Linked DNA regions of Homo sapiens: region 1 is linked to region 2. Evidence: promoter capture Hi-C in human tissues and cell types (Jung and others, 2019). All regions are on one chromosome and are shown on one strand. The core of a region is centred on a gene start or on the middle of the fragment in contact, and the rest is flanking DNA. Distances in the headings are between cores, read along the strand shown.

What was found. Contacts are between HindIII fragments. The study calls those that stand out against the background at their distance.
Region 1: a contact is called between a fragment that was not itself captured here and the fragment with the promoter of AMOTL2 in region 2, in 3 of the 25 tissues and cell types used here (hippocampus, neural progenitor cells and psoas muscle).

What each region holds. Positions count from the first base shown.
Region 1 is chr3:134,407,487-134,411,973 of GRCh38, reverse strand. No RefSeq gene overlaps it. Among named protein-coding and RNA genes, the nearest start is that of MIR4788, 28 kb to the left of the region's middle. RefSeq lists an enhancer at 4,027-4,487. The HindIII fragment of the contact is 5,326 bases long and covers 71-4,487 here.
Region 2 is chr3:134,371,724-134,376,593 of GRCh38, reverse strand. It overlaps AMOTL2 (angiomotin like 2), which reads left to right and starts at 2,147. Exons shown (of 10, transcript NM_016201.4): 1 at 2,147-2,252. RefSeq lists enhancers at 490-1,287, 1,288-2,087, 2,088-2,887. The HindIII fragment of the contact is 13,073 bases long and covers 1-4,870 here.

The DNA.
Region 1 (4,487 bases), core at 1,484-3,983, 35 kb before region 2:
AATATATTAGTTGATTCCTCTTTATGAATAAGTATAATTTTCAAAAAGTTAAAAGTATGACAGCCAGGTGTAGTGGCACATACCTATAGTCCCAGCTACTTGGAGGCCAAAGCAGGAGGATCACTTAAGCCTAGGAATTCAAGGCTGCAGTGAGCTGTGATTGCACCACTGAACTCCAGCCTGGGTGACAGAGCAAGACTTGATCTCCAAAAAAAAGAAAGAAAGAAAGATGATTCAAAGGAAATTTGAGGACTGGATATTTAAAGGAAATTTAATGAAGGAATGTTGCAGTAAGATTGTCTGATTAGGTACAAAACTGGTTAATGTTCTATAAGGCAATAAATCTTAACCTTTAAGGTTATCTTTTCTACAAGTCAGAAATTATTTGAATATTTACTAGACAAAAATATACAGGTTAAAATGTAACCATTCTATGTGTAAGATCTTTAATCAATAATAAGGAATGGGTTGACTAAAGTACATTCACCCTAAATCACTAAATATCCTTTGGATGGCTCAGTGCCCCATATGACTTTGGAAAGACATGATAACCAAATGTCTGCCTTATTTTTAAGTTTTGGATAATTTTTTGACAATGCCTTATCAATTTTTCAATCTGATCCCTTTAGTTATGAGAATTGTATTAAAATTCTCTCTATATATCTGTGTTTTTATCACACTTAGTAGTCGTATCTTTTTTTATCTATTTAGCTGCTTGCTATGCTGTCTGTTGCACACCAGTTTATGTTTATTATGCTCTATTCATGTCACAATTTCCCTCCTTAATCTTTTTATGCTTTTAGCCTTAAATTCCAACTTGTCTGATTAATATTGCCGATTAATTGTCTATTACATTCTTTTGTCTAAAAAAAGTTATCAAAAAGATACCTCTTTATAGACACTCTTATTTTTAACCATTTTATCATCACATCGTGTTAGATATTTCTTGTAAACATTATAAGGCCTTAAAAAAACTGAAGTATTTAGTTCAGCCACATTTAAGGACGTAGTTAATTTACTGAATAATCTTCCTTCCATCCTACTTTATGTGTATTAAGACAGCCGCTTGTCATTATTCACAGCGGTTTTGTTTTACAGAGTCACTGAAAATGCTAAATAGTGAATGTTGAACCATTCCTCCTAGGAGAAATAGAGGGTTAGGTTTCTGTGACTCTCTGGGTTACATTTCATCAACCAATTAATGCGTAACTTTGTCGTGGGTGTGTTTCTGCTTAAAGACACCTTATTTAATATATATCATTGACTTGTTAACATTGAACTCACAGCCAACAGCACTGCAACATATGCCTGAACAAAGTTTGTCTAACATGTGTGTTTTCTCCACGTGGCTCATCACAGCCTCTTGCACACAGGAACACTAGACAGCACCTCAGCACTACACTTGGGGGCCATTTTTAAGGAGATGTGAAAGTCAAAATAAAACATAGCAATGAATCTTTAAATTCAGCGTTTTATTTAGGAAGCACAGAATTGCAATTCAGAGCATACGCACAGACTGGGATGGCCTTCAGTATGTCTGAAAAACAAACGGAAGTTTGGGGGTCTTACTAGAAAAAGCCATGATACCTACTGTTTTGAAAACAGCTCATTGCTAGAGAAGCTTTTGGGAACTGGCAAGCTCTGATGGGTGAGTGAAGGAGGCAGATAAAACAAATCTTTGAGTCAAGACAGGTTGTTTCAGCAGCTACTAGGTAAAACTCGTCTTAGAGTTACTACAGGCTATTTCAGCAACTGGACTTGCAGCAAATTCAACTATTAGAGCTGGTGCTATGTGCAATTATTAGTGCTTTTCCCCCCAGCCCCTCAACGCTGATGTATTAAGTTGGTGCAAAAGTAATTGCTGCTTTAGCCATTAAAAGTGATGGCAAAAACAGCAATTATTTTTGCACCAACCTAATAGTTGCATATGACAAGAGTGACTCAGTTTATATAATCAATTTTCACAGAAGTCACCAGCAAAAAACACACAAAGATGACACTAAGCAGTCTGAGAAAAGAACTGTCATTTACAGCATGAGAAGTGAAACAAGAAGGTGGAGCATTGCCTTGTTCAACCTCAGCTGGGAAAGTGCCTGTTGAGTGACTCAAATTTTTCGCTGCTCTTGTGTATGTCCACAAATGATCATGAGTGCTCTCCAAGTATTGATTTTTAGGGTTACAAATAAAATTTAGTGAGTAGGTGTATTCACAAATGCAGAATCCTAGAATAATAAGGATGGGCAGTAATTGTTTTCTTCCCTCTTTTTGCTTTTTCTTATTTTTGCTGGCTTCTATTTTTCCCCTTGTTAATTTGAAAATTCCATTCTACTTTTCCAGTTTATTCTCGGTTGGTTCATTTATTCTGGGGGAACACCTTTTCTTGAATATTTTCATGAAATAACATTAGCCTCAATATTTTTCTTTTTCCGTAACAAGTGAATCACTTGATCAGGTGTGGTCCTATAGAGTCTATTTCACTGGTCTCTAGTTTCTAGTACTGGAAGGGAAGTCTAACGCCAGTCTGATTCTTTTCTCTTTTTAGGTAAGTTAAAGTAATTATCTGGATGTTGTAACAGTTTTCTCTTTATCCTTAGAGTTTAGAAATAGGTCTAGGTCATTTCTTATCCATTCAGCCTGAAAATCAACAAGTTCTTTCAATCTCCCATCTTTAGTCTCACATCTTTCTTTGCCTCAGGACAATGGTGGTTTTAAAAATTATTGTTATGCTTATTATTTCTTTCATGTCTTCCTTTTTCTCCTTTGGAAGTCTTACCATTCATGCATGTTGGGTCATTAGATCTACCCTGCTAGACTGATCTTTTCCCTAATTTACATCTCTGTATCTTTGTTCTGTGCTTTAAGGTGCCCTTGAGTGCTGACCTTGATTTCCCATCCCAATCATCTCTCTCAATTGTAGTGACCGTTTTCTCTTTCAAGTCATCTGATGAGTTGTTTAGTTGGGAAATCACATTTTTTTTACAGCTTCGTAAAGTCTTTTTTTTTTCTCTATTTACATATCTACAGGGGCTTTTTAAAATTGTTTTTTAAATTCATGTTGTCATCTGTCTCTTTCAGCCACTGTGTCACTGGGTGTGTGTTTTGCTTGTCCCTTCTGACTGCCCTCTCTTTGCCAGCTCACTGGGTTCAGGTCTGAGGATGGGAACACCCTAAAGGACAGATGTTCTATTGAGGAAAAGGAGGGGAAAAGCTCCGTCCTATGTAGAGATGCGGGGATACTGCCCATCTCCTGTGCAGGCACCTGGAAAAGGCTTCTCTGACCTGGGCTCTGTAGGGTCTCCCAACCTCAGGAACTAGGGAACTTAGCCCCCTGGTTCAACAACTTCTTAGTTCTGGGATGGGGCGCAGGGGACCAGGTATCTTCATCTAGTGCAATGTTAACCTTCCATTGGTCTCTGGGGTCCAAGCTCTCTCCAGCACTCACTTCTCAGACTTTACTTTGAGACTCCTCAGTATTTGCAGATCTGATGGGGAAGAACTACCAGTTCTGTTCTTTCTACTGTTTCCGACAACCGTTTATCTTGAGAGGAACAGAAATTCATTTGGAAGTGGAAAGAAAGGAAACCATATTCCAGTTACCATGTCCCCAGAATCACCTCTAAAGTGACTTTTTAAAAATGAAATTTACGTATAAAATTGGATTTATGGAAAAGTATTAATAATATTACAGGTGGTACCTGATGTTACAGAACTCACAAAGGTGATGTTTGAATGACAAAGTCTGAAAACACTGCACCAGAAAAATGTGAAATTTCCCTTCCAACTCTGGTGTTCTATTACTCTTCACAGCAGAGTTACCAGAATCTTCTCCTAACAGGGTGTGACGCATCGCTTTAAAGAAAAAAAGGAGGAATGATAATCATGATTAAACTAGTTAAATGACTGGTTTTAATGACTTCTTCATGGTTATACAAGCCATACCTCTATATCATATGTATAGCATAGGCATGGAGAGACCTCAGAAGAGAGACAGATAATTTAAAAAAAACAAGGAGGCAGGAGTTACCATATAATGTTTTAGAAACAGTCCGGCTGAGCAATTGCAAGGACACAAAGCCATGGGGCTATTAGAGAAAGGCAGGACAGGAATTGCAGCCACGATAAGGGATTCCTTGCAGGAGGCAACCCCTCCATAAAGGCATCTGGGTGAGCGAGGGTCTGGAGCCCAATCTGCCTTTACTAGAGGGTATTACTCCCCAAATAAGAGCCCCGCATGTTTGTTTCCTTTGTTGTGTAGTATTTACACAACAATGTGTGGGTGAGGGGAGGAAGGTCACTGTGGCACTTCTTAAAGGCCCATCTAGCACACCTATTCTTCTCAAAGCCACAGACACACACAGACCTTCAACATTCACAGCCCTGGTCACTCGGGCTGCCATTGGCTCTTCAGCAACACACAGTCTGGCACTTTGTGCCGGGAGGTCTTGCCTCCATCTGCAGTGGACTCGCCCAGTTGCTCAATGTCTCCA
Region 2 (4,870 bases), core at 898-3,397:
ATCCTGCAGAGCTGGGGTGGCCGCCAGCTTAGGTAGGCTCCACCGCAGGCCATGCCTGACAGATCTTGCCTTCTGTTCTTTCTGCAGAGAGAAAGGGAAAGGAAAAATAAAAGTACATGCACATTTCTCATTTAGGTTTTGGGATCCCTCTCCCGCTTCTGTCCCTTTGGGGACAGAAATTAGCAATCATGGGGGCCTGTGTGGCTCTGCAGCAGGCTTGTCCACTCCAAGATGTACCTCCTTCACCCTAGCTGCCTTGAACTGACGCCTTTCTGCAACCATCTCAAGAATATTTGTCAAACATTTTGTCAGGTATCCTCCCAAATGCCTGAAAGACAGGACTGTACCATGTGGTCTTTCCCCTGGTTTTACAACCCGAGTGCACATGTCCACAACCACTCCCCTGCCTCCACCAATTATGCTGTCCATAAGGTAAGGCCACTCAGAGACCTCTTTCCTTTCACTTCTAAAATTCCTACCTACAGTGGTATACTGATCACAGCTTCTCTTCGTAAGGGGATCCTTGGAAAGACAAATATCCCGTAGCTTGGCACAAATGATCCATTTGCTCAATCATCTCAGATCCAATCACTGTTTGAAACACAGTATTTGACTTCCAAGTAAAACACACACGTGCGCACACACACACACACTTTTTGTGAGTTTTATTAAAAATTAACAATGTCCCTGGCAATTAAGCTTGCAGAATTTCCTTGTCCTTGTTTCCCTCCAGTGAATTTGGGACTTGCAAACTCCATGCTGATGGGAGGACCCAGCCAGGGGTAGAAATCAGCCCTGACTCTCTGGGTGGACAGGGGCCTGACTGCCCCCACCTCACCCCAACTGACTTGTAGAGAGGGCTTGTGTGATGGGGAACGGGGACAGCATGTGTCAGAGCGAGCTTTCTGAAGAAGGGGTTTCCATCTAGCAGTGGAAGTGTCCTGGGGGCAGAGGAGAGGATTCCATGCAGGAGCCACAGAAGTGGGTACAGGGGAAAGCCCCTGGCTGGCAGGGGTGTAGGGGGAGGTAAAGAAGAGACTAAAGCAAGGACAGGGTAAGTGGAGAGAGGAGGGCTCCCAGTGTCTGCCCTGTCCATCTAGGGAGCCTGGATTCTGATAGCCAGGGAGGGGTTTTGAGAATGAGAAACCAAGCAGCCCAGTGGTTGATTACCTGGTTCTCACTGTGTGTGACTCTGGGCACGCTGCTTAAGCTCTCTGAGCCCTGGTGTCCTCATTTACAACACAGGGATGATAACAGAACTCCGTTGGAGGGTGCTTGGCAGGGCTGAATCGGATGACTGGGCGAAAAGCCAGCGGTGGCACACCTTGCACTCTGCGTAAAGGGGCGCCTATTATCACCTTGGGGAAGAACTGGACAGAGCGCCTGGCGGCGGGTGATTCAGTTGGGTAGGTGGGTCAAATTGACCGGATTTTCCAACCCAGATTCACACTTCCTGTCGAGACGGTCGTAAAATAGCTGGCGAAGGTGTTTGTAAACAAAAGTGCATTCAAAGGTTGCCGCTGGGGGTGAAAACAGCGGGGGTTAGGGGAAAGAGGCTCTGTGGCTGGAAGCATTCACTTAGCCCGGGGCACTGTCCCAGCCCAGAGGATATGGATGTCTTTGCAGTCCCTCCTCCCTTTCCCACCTCCCCCGGTACACACACACGCACACACACACACACACACACACACAGCCGGAGTCCCCTCCCGCAGCAACCCCAGGACACGCGTGGTACAGCCCTTGCTGTCGTCCCGTCGATGGGTTTAGGGATGAAGGGTGAGAGCGGGTCGGCGACTGGGAGTGGAGGCGATAATGGGCAGAGTTGGATTAAATTGTCTCCAGCAGCTCCGAAGGCAAAGCATGGGGCAGGGGCGGACACACCGCGGCCTGGAGGGCGCTGGGCGCGGAGGAACGGAGCTCGGGGGCCGGGCCGGCGCTCGGCCAGCAGCGCCGCCTCCCCGGAGGAAGGCGGGGGCCGGGAGGAGGGAGCGGGAGAAGGCGGAGGGCGGAGGAGGGCGGTGCGCTGAGAGGTTATTTGTGGTTCGCTTTGATCCCGAGGGGGAACCTGAAACTCTCACATTCCTGGCATAGCAGCCGCCTCCGGCGCGGGCCGACCCTGGGGCTGCGCGCTGGGGCGCGAACAGCCAGAGCGTCGGCGCCACGGCCGAGAACACATCTTCGCCGCCGAGCTGAGCTGGGCCGAGCCGGAGGTTGTGGTGTCTGACTGCGCTGGGCACCCTCGGGCCGCAGCGGTAAGGAAGGCCGCTCGGCGCTCGGGAGAGCGCGCGAGGCCACAGAAACGTGCCCCAGCCAAAGCTGGAGTCTCGGCGCAACCCGGCCTTTTCCGGGAGTCGGAGCCTCGAGGATCGAGCGTCCTCGGGGCGCAGTGCGCCCTTTCGAGGCAGCCGCAGTGCCTGGCAAGGGCCGCTCTGCCCAGGGAGCGCAGCGCGCTGGGCTTTGCGGGGCTCTAGAAACGCGCGGGTCTCTTGGGGCTGGGGGAGAGGGGAGAGGGCCGACTCCGGAGACAACAGCCACAGTGTTTCGGGTTGCAGGTCGGCGGGGGTGGGGGTGGCGGGGGACAGGGATGGAGGCGCCGCTTGGAGCTCAAGTTGCAGGGTCCTGCGGGCTGATTTGGTTAGGTGGGGGTTACAGGTGCCTTTGCCCCCAACTAGTCCAAGAATTCCTCTTTGTCTTCCTTGGAAAATCCTCTCTGGAGCCACGAATTGGCCCTCACTTAGAAAGAATGCAGCCTGCTGTCCAGCCCGGTGACGTCAGCGTTAGAGTATTTGGAAAACAAAGAGGGCTCGAGAGGGAGGGAGGCGGACCCGCGATGCTTAAAGACCTCTCCGGGCCTCGGGCTACCCTCACCGGCTCGCCCCAGGCGTACCAGCGGCCACCGGTGCTCCAGGTCCGCCCGGGCTCGTGGTGGGGCGGGAGCCCTGGCTGGGGTGCCAGAACCTCCTAGCTTGGAGACTGTCTTTGGTTCCTTAGGCGAGCAGGAGCCCAGGCCAAGGCTGGAGACGCGCGCTGGCTTAGAAAGGCGGCCTTCAGAGAGCGCAGCGGGCGAGTGCAGCAGAGGTTCGCGGCCGGGGGCGCGGAAGCAGGTTTTTGTAAAGGCCCAGGCGTTTGATGTCTGAAAGGACGTGAATCTGAGGGGCTTGGCCGGGACAAATTCGCGATGAGAGGCCTTGGAGATGTTCCTTGCTCCCAGTCCGGGCACACTATGGAGCGCCTGGAATCTGTCAGGAAGGCTCCGCATTCCTTCCTGCCGCTCCCCTGCCTTCTCTGTGGGAGTCGGCCCAGAGAGTGATTATCATAGGAAATGCCCGCAGATAAAACTCCAGGGCGAACTGAATCCCATACGAATTGAATCCCATTTGCTTGCTTTGCCTCGGGTAGCTCTGGAGTCTTGCACATCTACCCCTCGTTGTGTGTGGGGGGCGCATGACTGGGTGCCAGGAAGGATGGGTACAGAGGTGCCCTCCAGACTCATCCCCCACTCCCCAGCTCTGGGCAGCTGGAGTACTGGGGTGGGGAGAGGGAAAAGATCGGGAATGGCTGCTCTGCCAACATGCCATAGCCCAAACTGAAGCAGGACACTAGGGCTAGTTTAGTGGCAGAGGAGGGGCCACATTCCTCCCACCCACCCCCCCAACCCCTGCCCATACACACAGGACCTGTGGCAGTGTGGATTCTGTTTAGTTTTCCCTGGATCCCAGTTTGGAGATTTGTGTTGGAAGAGGCTGTGGAAAGGAAGCTGGGTGAGAGAGGCAGGCAGATTTCCAGTCCATGAACCACTGGGAGCCCAGGCTTAGAAGGGAACTCCTTTCTCCGATATAATCTCCCAGCACTTTAGGCTCACAGTCCCCTCTCCCCTGCCCCAGGTCTCTCAACCAACAGCCTCCCCTTACTTCTCCAGTTGGCCCAAGTCAAGATGGGCTTCCTTGACACTGATGTCAAGAAAGATGCTGAGTGCCCATCCCTTATGTGCCTAGAGGACCAGTGGGGGCTTTTCCAAGTAGCGTGTGTGTGTGTTTGTGTGTGTGTGTGTGTGTGTGTGTGTTGGGGAGGATAATCATAAAATCAAAGACATCATGCCATCCTTCCTTTTTCCTGGAGCTCTCTTGCAGTTACTGTCAGCACAAAAGACTGACCCACTAACCTTAATGGGTGGCACCTTTTTGCCTCATCTTACAAAACCATTGTCCTCTTGAAGCATTTTTATTCATCCTTTATTCACCAATTCAGGTGCAATTACTCCTTCTTCCTGTTCACCTTGCAGAATGACTGCCAAGGTCATCCCATGACAGGGAGCCCCAGATTCATTCTGTCAGCAGCGCTTGATGAAGCAGAGCCCAAGCCCATCCTCCAGGAGTTCTCTGGTTCAGGGAGAGTGGGAAAAGTGGCCAGGGGTTCAGCGGGCTAGAGGGTGGTAGGTTGACTGTGCCAAGGCTCTGGGATGCCTCAGTCTAGAGGGTGGTAGGTTGACTGTACCAAGGCTGGACTCTGGCATGCCTCAGTCTAGAGGGTCCTAGAGGCCTTTCGCCTAGGGCTTCTACTGGACTGCATGCATTCTTTATCACCTGCCAATAAATTGGGGCCCCATCCACCCCTAGACTGAATAGCTAAGTGGTTAGATCTGAACTAGGCCTGCCTTAGAATTGCCCATCAGGCTGTTTGATGTGTAGCTGGCTGTACGGGTGGTGGTTCCTGGTGGGTTATCTTCTGGTTTCCTGTTGTCTCTCTCCAGGAATAGTAAGTCTCCATGAATGTTATCATTAGTAATCGTTTACCAGGATTTTCACTGTGCCAGGAGCTCGCAGGCCACTGCCTCTTTTTTTTTCCTCATCTCCATGAGTCAAGCAGAATT